Linked DNA regions of Homo sapiens: regions 2, 3 and 4 are each linked to region 1. Evidence: promoter capture Hi-C in human tissues and cell types (Jung and others, 2019). All regions are on one chromosome and are shown on one strand. Each heading gives the region's core, a stretch centred on a gene start or on the middle of the fragment in contact. The rest is flanking DNA. Distances are from core to core; before and after follow the strand shown. Region 1 holds the start of MMP24 (matrix metallopeptidase 24). Region 2 overlaps MMP24-AS1-EDEM2 (MMP24-AS1-EDEM2 readthrough). Region 3 has its middle 20 kb from the start of TRPC4AP. Region 4 overlaps MMP24-AS1-EDEM2 (MMP24-AS1-EDEM2 readthrough).

Evidence for each region. The method cuts DNA at HindIII sites, captures the fragments that hold promoters and counts their contacts. A contact is called where the count stands out against the background at its distance.
Region 2: a contact is called between a fragment that was not itself captured here and the fragment with the promoter of MMP24 in region 1, in 2 of the 25 tissues and cell types used here (heart left ventricle and small bowel).
Region 3: a fragment that was not itself captured here is called in contact with the fragment with the promoter of MMP24 in region 1 in 2 of the 25 tissues and cell types used here (IMR-90 fibroblasts and lymphoblastoid cells).
Region 4: a contact is called between a fragment that was not itself captured here and the fragment with the promoter of MMP24 in region 1, in 2 of the 25 tissues and cell types used here (H1 embryonic stem cells and IMR-90 fibroblasts).

What each region holds. Positions count from the first base shown.
Region 1 is chr20:35,225,343-35,228,042 of GRCh38, forward strand. It overlaps MMP24 (matrix metallopeptidase 24), which reads left to right and starts at 1,348. Exons shown (of 9, transcript NM_006690.4): 1 at 1,348-1,642. The coding sequence starts at 1,397. The region is part of intron 3 of MMP24-AS1-EDEM2 (MMP24-AS1-EDEM2 readthrough); the gene reads right to left. The HindIII fragment of the contact is 20,114 bases long and covers 1-2,700 here.
Region 2 is chr20:35,148,723-35,151,422 of GRCh38, forward strand. All of the region lies in intron 5 of MMP24-AS1-EDEM2 (MMP24-AS1-EDEM2 readthrough), which reads right to left. Among named protein-coding and RNA genes, the nearest start is that of EDEM2, 2.7 kb to the left of the region's middle. The HindIII fragment of the contact is 8,464 bases long and covers 1-2,700 here.
Region 3 is chr20:35,111,233-35,113,932 of GRCh38, forward strand. No RefSeq gene overlaps it. Among named protein-coding and RNA genes, the nearest start is that of TRPC4AP, 20 kb to the left of the region's middle. The HindIII fragment of the contact is 9,872 bases long and covers 1-2,700 here.
Region 4 is chr20:35,132,260-35,134,959 of GRCh38, forward strand. MMP24-AS1-EDEM2 (MMP24-AS1-EDEM2 readthrough) reads right to left here. Exons shown (of 15, transcript NM_001355008.2): 10 at 2,479-2,690. It overlaps EDEM2 (ER degradation enhancing alpha-mannosidase like protein 2), which reads right to left. Exons shown (of 11, transcript NM_018217.3): 6 at 2,479-2,690. Among named protein-coding and RNA genes, the nearest start is that of EDEM2, 14 kb to the right of the region's middle. RefSeq lists an enhancer at 1,113-2,312. The HindIII fragment of the contact is 9,994 bases long and covers 1-2,700 here.

The DNA.
Region 1 (2,700 bases), core at 98-2,597:
AGCATCATTTTATAAAAATGGAACAGAGCCAAGATATGAACATAGGTCTGACGCTAAAGCCTGTGCCCTTTTTTCATCTCCAAATTACCACGTAATCATAAAATACTATTTTCACACATCATCCTGCTTAAACACACACATACACACACACACACCACACACACACAACCTTTAATGACCACCCTCCCCCATTTTCCTTCAGAACACAACCCAAATTTATTATCCTAGCATTCACTGTCTTGTACAACTTCCCTCACTTCCCAACACTTTCCTATAGGAACCCTGTGCTCCAGAGAAACTTATCTGCCGCCTCAGGCACATCCTGTACACCCTCAACTTCCTCCCTGAAATGCCCTCTCCTCTCCCCTCCCCTGGTTTAAATCCAGCCTTTCCTTCAGGTCCTAGCTAGAGTCCCACCCTCCTCCATTACACTTTTTCCTAACTTCCCCAGCCCCTCATCAGGTCTCCCTCGACCCCTGGAGCAGCCGCCTGTATCCTTGTTGACACGTGGTGTTTGCCATTCTGTTTTTCTTTGCGTTTATGTTTTCTCATCAAGCTGTAAACCTCTGCACTCCAGGAAATCGGCCTTCTCTTTTTTGTTTTTGTTTTTGGGTGTTTTTTTTTTTCCTTTCAGCATCCCAAGTAGCCCAGAGCCCTACAAATAGAAAGCGCTTGATAAATATGGGTTGTTTTGGATGAAAGATGATCTTCCCAGCTGGATGAGCTCTTTCCCTCTAGGGGTGAGGGACTGAGCTTCACCTCAACTTCACCTAATGTCTCACAGGAATGCCCCCTCTTAAACGCTCCTCAGGTCTTCTCTACCCCTTTCCCCCACCACCCCGGCCCAGGAGAGCCACTCAGAGCTCCCTCTCCGGAGTCACCCTCTCAGACCCAGGGCTATTTCTTTAGCTTGCTCTCGAACCCCGCCTTTACCCCAGAGCCGCTCCTCAGTCTCCTCCCCCAGGCTGCCTCTCAGGCCCCCTCTCCTCCAATGCCACTCCCTAGGACCCTCTCCCCAGGGTTCCGGACCCCCAACCCCGGATATGTTCCCCCAGGGCCATCCAGTTGTTCTACCTCCAGGATTACTGATTTAGCCTCTTCCCCCTCCTGCTCAGGGCTACCCCCAGACCCCGACCTCCAGTTCCACCCCTTCGGACCCTGCCTCTAGAACTGTTCTTTTAGCCTCTGCAACCCCCTCCCCAGCGCCGCTCCGCGGCCCCTGCCCCAGGGCTGGTCGGGGAGCCACTGCCCTCGCAGGTCCCGCCCGGGTGCTGCCCCCGCGCCCCCGGCCGCCCCCCACCGGGGCGGGGCGCGCGGAGGCGGGGGCGCGCTGGCGGCCGAGGCGGCGGCGGCGGCGGCGAAGGCAGGCGGGCCGGGCGCGGGCCCCGCCGCCGGGATGCCGAGGAGCCGGGGCGGCCGCGCCGCGCCGGGGCCGCCGCCGCCGCCGCCGCCGCCGGGCCAGGCCCCGCGCTGGAGCCGCTGGCGGGTCCCTGGGCGGCTGCTGCTGCTGCTGCTGCCCGCGCTCTGCTGCCTCCCGGGCGCCGCGCGGGCGGCGGCGGCGGCGGCGGGGGCAGGGAACCGGGCAGCGGTGGCGGTGGCGGTGGCGCGGGCGGACGAGGCGGAGGCGCCCTTCGCCGGGCAGGTGGGGCTGGCGCGCGGGGCCGGGGCGCGGGCTCGGGGCATCCGGGCAGGGCGGGGGGCGGCACCGGGGACGGGCCTGGGCCGGGCCGCACCTACTGCCGAGGTCGCGGAGGCGGCGCGCCGGGGGTCCGCGCCTTGGGTCCGGGCTGGCGCGGCCCAGGGCGGGGGCTGGGGAGGGCCTCGCCGAGGGCCGCCGAGGCCGGGAGCTGCTTCAGCACCGCGGACAGGGGCAGCGGGCGGGGGCCGAGCACGAGGGTCGGGTTTGTTGTGTTGGCAGTGGGGTGTGTGGCCTGCATGACTATGTGCGAGGGAAACCGTACAACGCCTCGGAGTAAATAGTAAGCGCAGCCAGTCTGTTGTGGGTTGGGAGAAGAAACCGAGGATGTTCAAGCTGGAGAAGGGGGAGGGGGAGGGCGGAGGAAGGACTCGATCACTGTCTTCGTAGCTGAAGGGCTGTCAGGTGGAGGTAGGATAGACTTGTTCTAGCTTGGCCCCACAGGGCAGAACTAGGGCCAGCGGGAGTGGGGGTTGCAAGAAGACAAATTTGGGCTCGATATAGGAAGAAGTTTGTAACAATTGGAGCTGCTCAACCAGCTTAGGAGGCGGCGAGCTGCTCATCACTGGCATGTGCAAGTAAAAGCTCTCGGAGGGGATTGGATGGAGGCATGCATAATGCTTGCATGGATGCATACATCATCATCACAATAATGCCAGCTAGCATTTACTGAACACTCACTATGTGCCAGGCCTGGTGCTATGTTTTATACGAATTATCCAATTCAATCCTCATAACTACTCTATGAAATAGCTGCAATTATTATCCCCATTTTACAGATGGGGATACAGACTCAAAGAGCTTAAGTAACTTGCCCAAGGTCACACAGCTAGTGAGTGATGGAATTGGAATTCTAACCTAGGCAGGCTGACTCTAGTCTCCCCTTATTTACCCATGACCTTATCCTATATCTCATGGGGGGTGCAGTTGGACTAATTTCTCTAGTATCTTCCAACCTAGAGGACTGCAATATTCTAATAAATGATGTTGGGACAATGGTGTTT
Region 2 (2,700 bases), core at 50-2,549, 77 kb before region 1:
AAAAAAAAAAAAAAAAAAAGACAAATGACTACCCTGGGGCACTATAGCTTTCAGGAGGTTTGTGATCCATTTCTCCATTCCCCTTATTCCCAAGTTTCTAAAATTTGGTCAGCACCTTAGACCACAGCAACACCCATGACTTTGGTCAGTGTGACATGCGGTAGAACCAACACTGGATTTGAAGTCAGATCTAGGATCCAGTTAATTACAACTCTGTCACTCATCTATAACCTGTGTATGTGACCCTCTCCTTCTCTGGGGCTAGCATCCTTGTCTATAAATAATGAGGAGTTTGAACAAATGGATCTTTAAGATCCTTTTCGGTCGAGCTTTCTATGATTCTAGGATTGGCTATCTCTTATTTGCTGAAAAAGTCAGATGGAAGTGATAGCTCAGTTTGTTGAGCCAGAGTGCAGCCAGGCCTCCCAAAGTGCTGGGATTACAGGCATAAGCCACTGTACCCAGCCTGGGATGTTTTTAGAAACTCTTCTTGGCCGGGTGCAGTGGCTCACGCCTGTAATCCCAGCACTTTGGGAGGCCAAGGCGGGCGGATCACGAGGTCAGGAGTTCAAGACCAACCTGGCCAATATGGTGAAACCCTGTCTCTACTAAAAATACAAAAATTGGCCGGGAGTGGTGGCAGACGCCTGTAGTCCCAGCTACTCAGGAGGCTGAGGCAGGAGAATCGCTTGAACCCGGGAGGTGGAGGTTGTAGTGAGCCAAGATCAAGATCAGGCCACTGCACTCCAGCCTGGGAGACAGAGCGATACTCTGTCTCAAAAAAAAAAAAAAAAAAGAAACTCTTCTTGGGGCTTCCAAATGGAAGGGAAAGGAGATGACAGTAAGCTGAGACCTGGATAACAACACAGGAGCACTGTATTCGTTTCCTGTGATTCCTGCAACAAATTACCACAAACCAAGTGGCTTAAAGCAACAGAAATTTATTCTCTCGCAGTTTGGGAGGTCAGGAGCCTGAAATCAATTTCACTGGGCTAAAATTAAGTTATTGACAGGGCCACACCCACTCCAAAGGCTCTAAGGGATAATCCGTTCCTTGCCTCTCTAGATTCTCCTGACTGCTGGCATTCCTTGGCTTATGGTTGTATCACTCCAGTATCTGCCCGTGCCTTCATATCGCCTTCTCTGTGGATGTGTCACATCTCCTTCTGCTTTTCTCTTATAAGGACATTTATAATTGCATTTAGGACCCCCCCCGCGCCCCCCCCAACCCAGATAATACAGGATAAACTCCCATTCCAAGATTTTTAACTTAATCACATCTAGGGGGAAAAAAAAAAAAAAACACCATTTTTCCAAATAGAGAAACATTTACAGTTTCCAGAGATTAGGACCTGGACTTTAGGTGGCTGTTTCCAGCCTAGCGCAGGGACTAAATATTTTTCAGACCTGGGCCTTTCCCTGTGACGAAATTCACCTTCTCCATATTATAAATCCTATAGCTTATCTTTTTGTCTCCCATTCAAAATTCTAGTGTGGATAAAACTTTTGCAGGAAGGGTGGGTTCAGGTTGCCTGGATTTGGTAACGATAGGTCTCTCTTTATGAGCAAGATTGAAACACTCATGATTTTCCTTTATATTCTTTTTCTAGCTTGATGTCATTCTCCACACTGTCACTGAACAAATAAAACCATGACTTACGTTTTCACAATTCATGTGACTATATGTTCTCTAATGAGAATAAAAAAATTGTTTTACCCTCTGGAAAGTATCAGGACTCTTCTTTCTCTCACTCTGTGTTTATGATATTGGATTCTAGAAGGTTATGACCCACCAGTGAAGTGTCACACTTGAGCATTTACTTGTGAAGAGACTCAGGGTAAGTTGCCTACCTCTCTGAGACTCAATTTCCTATTGTAAAATACAGAAATTGATGAGGCCATAAAGGAATTCTGGGAATTAAATGGGATAATGAAAGTGAACATTCTCAGCACAGTGACTGGTATATATTAAATTCTTGATACATATTAATTCTCTTCCCTGCCTCCCCAACTCTTCTTTTTTTTTTAAGGCAGGGCAGTTGTTTCCATTTACTGAGCATCTGCCCCGAGTCATCCAAGGTGTTATAGGCAATAGTTCCTACCCTCAAAAGTTTGAGGCACAGTGCTGAGCATATAACTAAGATTCCAAAATAATCAAGTCATAGTCCTTTCCCTTGAAGTGCTTGCAATTTTGTTAGAAGGGGAAGATGTCAATTGGAGAATACTTGGAATCATAGGGTGTTCAAGTCTTCCCTGTGGGTGAATAGAGTTTGGAGGGAGCTCAGATCACATCAGTATCTGAGGCCAATGTCCTCGGACTCTGTGTTCAGTGGAACAAGACTTGGACTGGTTGTCGGAAACCCTTGGTCTTGTTACTTGTTTATCCACTATCTCTGTGTGATCTCGGGCAAGTCATTTTCCCTTTTGGGGACTCAGTTTCCATATCTGGAAGATGAAAGAGTGAGACTATCTCTCAGCACAAGGAAAATATTAACAGATCCATACAGTTATTGCAAAAAATCAGAAAACAGAATTCAACACACATCGACTGCACAAATTTCCCCCAGAAACATCCATGAAGCAGAATAAAACAGTGGGACAGCATTCCAAATGGAATTTGACTATTTGCCAACTAAACAAGGAAGAGGAGGGGGATGGGGAGGGGGACAAGAAGAAGAAGGAGAAAATAGTCACGTGTAT
Region 3 (2,700 bases), core at 87-2,586, 110 kb before region 1:
TCTCTGATCTGGCCTGGAATCCGGGGTGTTGACTAATGATCAAGGGTATCCCTGGGTGTGGGGATGAGCTGGCCTTGGCCACAAAGAAGCCTGAATAATGAAGTGGACTGTGGTTCTAAGAGTAGTCATAGCTAATAGTAGCTGTTAGCTAGTAGATGATGTAATTTCCTTCCATTATGCCTCAGTTTTCAGTCAAGACTTCTTCAAAGTTATAGCAGTTCTCGTCTAGGTTATGGGGAATTATGTGTAGGCCTGAGTCTCTATTTGAGGCAAAGTAATAGAAGAGAGGGCAGGAGGTATATCCCTGCCTATCAAGGTAGCCAGAGGTTTGCCATGGTACTGAAGAAAATGATCAGCAGCTGAATTAGCCAAGGTTCATGGGCAAAGATGAGGCTGGCAGATAAAGCCAGACAAATTCCTGGTTAAAAGTCACCTCCTGAGCTATTTAGAGAAACAGTTGATTCAGGGCTGGGATAGGAACGGGATCAGCTGAGCTTGGAACATCTTGTAATACCAGAAAGCAGGACACTATCAAAGACTATTGGGGTTGTGTTAACAGGACTCAGGGCTAACTTGAAGAGAGGCTTCCACTGGCCAGAAATGGGACAATTTGAGCTTTGATAAGAAAAATAATTTCAATGAACTGAAAACCATCAAATGAGTTTAAATCCAAGAGTTCACAATACTTGAAAAACAAAACTTCATTGTCACAATTGGAAGATGCTAGGAAAATGATGCATTATTCTGGAAAATAAAAAATAAAAGTTAAGAATCAAATATTTATCCTGGCTTTCCTGAATGAACTGTGCCCCAAGGAACCCAAATAGTTGACGAGAGGAAGTCTTTCTTTAGAGAAGTAGTCTAGCCTTGGCTGGGCATGGTGGCTCACACCTGTAATCCCAGCACTTTGGGAGGCCAAGGTAGGTGTATCACCTGAGGTCAGGAGGTCGAGACCAGCCTGACTAACATGGTGAAACCTTGTCTTTACTAAAAATACAAAATTAGCTGGGTGTGGTGGCGCATGCCTGTAATCCCAGCTACTTAGGAGGCTGAGGCAGGAGAATTGCTTGAACCCGGGAGGCAGAGGTTGCGGTGAGCCGAGATCAAGCCATTGCACTCCAGCCTGGGCAACAAGAGCAAAACTTCATCTCAAAAAAAAAAAAAAAAAAAAAAAAAAAGAGAAGTAGTCTAGACTAATTAAAATCTCACTATTTTGAAACCCCTGTTGAAATAATGGATCCAAGCAATGACCAACAAATGGCTGTTAGTAACAGGCAAGGAGACATCATGTGTCTCTTGACCAAAAGAAACAACAGTGCTTATTCTTGAAAAATAAAAACACCAGCCTAGACAACATAGCGAGACCCCATCTAAACAAAAAATTTAAAAATTAGCCAGGTGTGGTGGTGTGGGCCTGTAGTCCCAGCTATTCGGGAGGCTGAGGCGGGAGAATCACTTGTGCCCGTGAGGCTGCAGTGAACTGTGATCACCCCACTGGGTGACAGGGTGAGACGCTGTCTCAAAATACATAAATACACAAATAAAAATAAAAACAAAAGTAAAAATCCAAATCTGATGATGTCTCTAGATCTTAATATCAACTTTAAAAAACAGTTATATAATAAATACCTCAGAGATGCAATTAACAAAATCCATAATATGGAAACCTACAGGACATACAACTGTTGTCTTCAACAAACAAACTGCAATGAAAATAGAGGAGGAGTGGGAAAGGAGGGAGGGAGGGAGAGGGAAAGAATTCCTGTAAATTAAAAGACATTTCAGAGATATATCATCTAATTTCAAATATATAAATCAACCCTATGTGGGTCCTGATGCAAACAAACTATAATACAAAGTTATGAAACAAAACATTTTGAACATTGGAGAGGATATCAAGGAATAATGATTTATTTTTATAGGCATGCTTTGGGGATGCATTCTGAAATACTTTTAGGAATAAAATGTTTGGAATCCTAAATAATCTAGTGTGGATATAAATGAAATAAGGTTGGCCATGAATTCATCATCTTTGAAGCTAGTTTGTTGAAATTGGGTGATGAGCACACAAAGGATGGATGTCCTGTTCGCTCCATTTTTGTTTATTTAAAATTTTACTTAGCCAGGCATGGTGGCATGCACCTGTGGTCCCAGCTTCTTGGGACGCTGGGGTGGGATGACCGCTTGAGCCTGGGAGGTGGAGGCTTCAGTGAGCTCAGATCATGCCACTGCATTCCAGCCAGGGCATGAGTGAGATCCTGTCTCCAAATAAATAAGAAAATAAATAAAAATAAAATAAAATAAAATAAAATAAAAATAAAAAAATAAAAAATAAATAAAATAAAATAAATAAAAAATAAAATAAAAAAATAAATAATAAAAATAAAAAAATAAACAAAATAAAATAAAATAGTACATCCTGGCCAGGCACGGTGGCTCATGCCTCCTAGCACTTTGGGAGGCCAAGGCAGGCAGACTGCTTGAGCTCAGGAGTTTGAGACCACCCTGAGCAACGTGGCAAAATCCCATCTCAACAAAAAATACAAAATTAGGAAAATTAGCCAGGCATGGTGGCATGCTCCAGTTGTCCCAGCTACTCGGGAGGCTAAGGTGGGAAGATTGCTTGAGCCCAGAAGGTCAGGGATTGCAAGGCTTGCAGGGCTTGCAGTGAGCCGTGATTGCGCCACTGCACTCCAGGCT
Region 4 (2,700 bases), core at 1-2,500, 93 kb before region 1:
GGGGCAAAAGGGGACTTCACCAATGTCACTGAGTACCCTTTTTTGTATCCTTTGACTTTTTTTTTTTTAATTGTTCAGTCTCTGTAGAGACTGTGAAAAATTGGCAATGCCGGCCAGGCGCGGTGGCTCATGCCTATAATCCCAGCACGTTGGGAGGCTGAGGGGGGCAAAATCACTGGAGGTCAGAAGTCCGAGACCAACTTGGCCAACATGGTAAAACCCTGTCTCTAATAAAAACACAAAAATTAGCCAGGCATGGTGGTGTGTGCCTATAATCCCAGCTACTCAGGAGGCAGAGGCATGAGAATCACTTGAACCCAAGAGGGGGAGGTTGCAGTGAGCCGAGATCGTGCCACTGCACTCCAGCCTGGGCGACAGGGGGAGACTCTGTCTCAAAAAAATAAACAAAGATACGTATTTTTCTATTTTATTGTATTTATTTTATTTTTTGTATTTTTAGTAGAGACATGGTTTCTCCCTGTTGGTCAGGCTGGTCTCGAACTCCCGACCTCAGGTGATACGCCTGCCTTGGCCTCCCAAAGTGCTGGGATTACAGGCGTGAGCCACTGCGCCCAGCCAAATATATGTATTTTTCATATGGCTTAGACCCTCATGGAAGCTGGTAACTTCATCTGGTACTCAAAGAAATAGCTAACTGTTCCGCGTTGGTTTGTGTCCCCCCAGGAGCACAACCTCATTCTGCCTGAAAGTAGTTGATTTGGAAGGTAAGTCCTTGTAAACACCAGTAGAGGAGGGGGAAGTGAGGCAGGGCAAGGGAGGCGGCATTTAAGGGGTATGCCATCAGGCAGGTTTCCACCATGGGAACTGGAGTTCAATCTTGCTGGGGAGCTTAGGAATTCAGTGTAGAGCTCCAGCTTCGGAGTGATCCCACCCAAGGGGCAGGGAACTGGAATGTTTATCCACCAACTCCCATCAGTATCAGTTACCGGCTTGAGAGCTACTCATGGGTAGCATTAAATCCTGGTACCCTCAGCCAAAGGCAAGCAGAGTGGCTCCAGGCACCAGAGGAGACCCACAGGCAAAGAGGCGCAGGTGATGGCAGTTGGAAGACTGGCCAGTGTGCATGGAAATGTTAAGAGTTGAGAGGATATGGGCATGGCACCAACAGAGTCTACTACGGTCCCACTGCTGGAGCAAAACCTGCCTGAGATGGACTAAGGGATTTACTACAGGTCTCCAGCGGGGCACCTTTTTTTTTTTTTTGAGATGGAGTTTCGCTCTTGTTGCCCAGGCTGGAATGCAATGGCGCGATCTCGGCTCATCCCAACCTCCACCTCCCAGGTTCAGGCAATTCTCCTGCCTCAGCCTCCCAAGTAGCTGGGATTACAGGCATGCACCACCACGCCCGGCTAATTTTGTATTTTTTAGTAGAGATGGGGTTTCTCCATGTTGGTCAGGCTGGTCTCGAACTCCCAATCTCAGGTGATCCGCCCGCCTCAGTCTCCCAAAGTGCTGGAATTACAGGCGTGAGCCACCGCACCCAGCCTTAGGGGGGCACCTTCTTAAGGGATTTTCGGGGAGTCCTCACACAAGCTTTACTTTTCAAGCTGGATTAGCACCAGACTGCATAAAATGTGCCTAGACCTAAATGCAGTCTTCCTAAGTCAGAGTGACTCAGCAAAGTTGGTATTAATATATTAACGTTACTGCTGAAGTAACTGAGGACCAGAGAGGTTGAGTGACTTGCTCAGGGTCACACAGTTTCGATGTAGCAAGGCCAGGGCTTGAATCCAGTTCTGACTAAATCCAGTGTTATGTCCTGGATGGCTTTGGCTCAATTACTGTTAATCTTATTGATTATCCCATTTAGAAGCTGAAACTGACCTTAGAGATCATCTGGTCCAAAGTGTGTTCAATTTCCATGGGTTAATAGTACTGGAAGATAAAGGGAAGCTCTGGTGTTAAATAAGTTTGGGAAATGTTAAATTAAACAAAGTTGAATAGATTTCTTTACTAGAGGATTTTTATTCTGCTCATGTGCATTCTGACTCTCCAAAAAAGGGGGGGATATTATATCTAATATTCCCCTAACTTAATTGGCCAAGACTCATTTTTTCATGCAACTGCCACTCAGTATCTCTCAGAACCGGTGTCCTAAGAAACACAGCAAATACAGATAGACGCTAAAAATGAAGGCCGGACGAGCTGATGATCTGAAGCCGTCAAGTGAGTCAGGGGCATGAAACATACGACCCTCTTCCTAGAAATCAGAGAATCTCAACTGGTCAAAGCTGAATGCAGCCCCTGCTGCCTGCCAGAAACGTGCTTTCCCACTCTCCTCCCCACTCCAAGCCAAACTTGAATTGGAGGCTTGGTCTATTTTTGGTGTCCTGAGCCCAAATCCTGGACCACTCCCAAGGTCACCCTAAGTTTTCCTTGGCTTGACTGCAACTTATTGCTCAGAGCCCTGGGCCTCGTAAGCAGGGACTCAAACAGGAAGGGCAGCAGCGAACCTACCAGCCCGATATCTGACCGGCTCTCCCAGAGGCGCATCAAAGCCACTCTGGCCACATCTTCGAACACCGGGTCACCAGTGAGGCTGCTCAGGGTGGCAAATTCAACAATGAAGGTCCCAATCCCTGCCGTACAGGTGACAGGGGTCTCTCCTGGGTTCACGCCATGAAGTAAGTTCACTGTTCCATATGGCATGCCAGTGGGGGTCTGAAAGGCTGAACAATC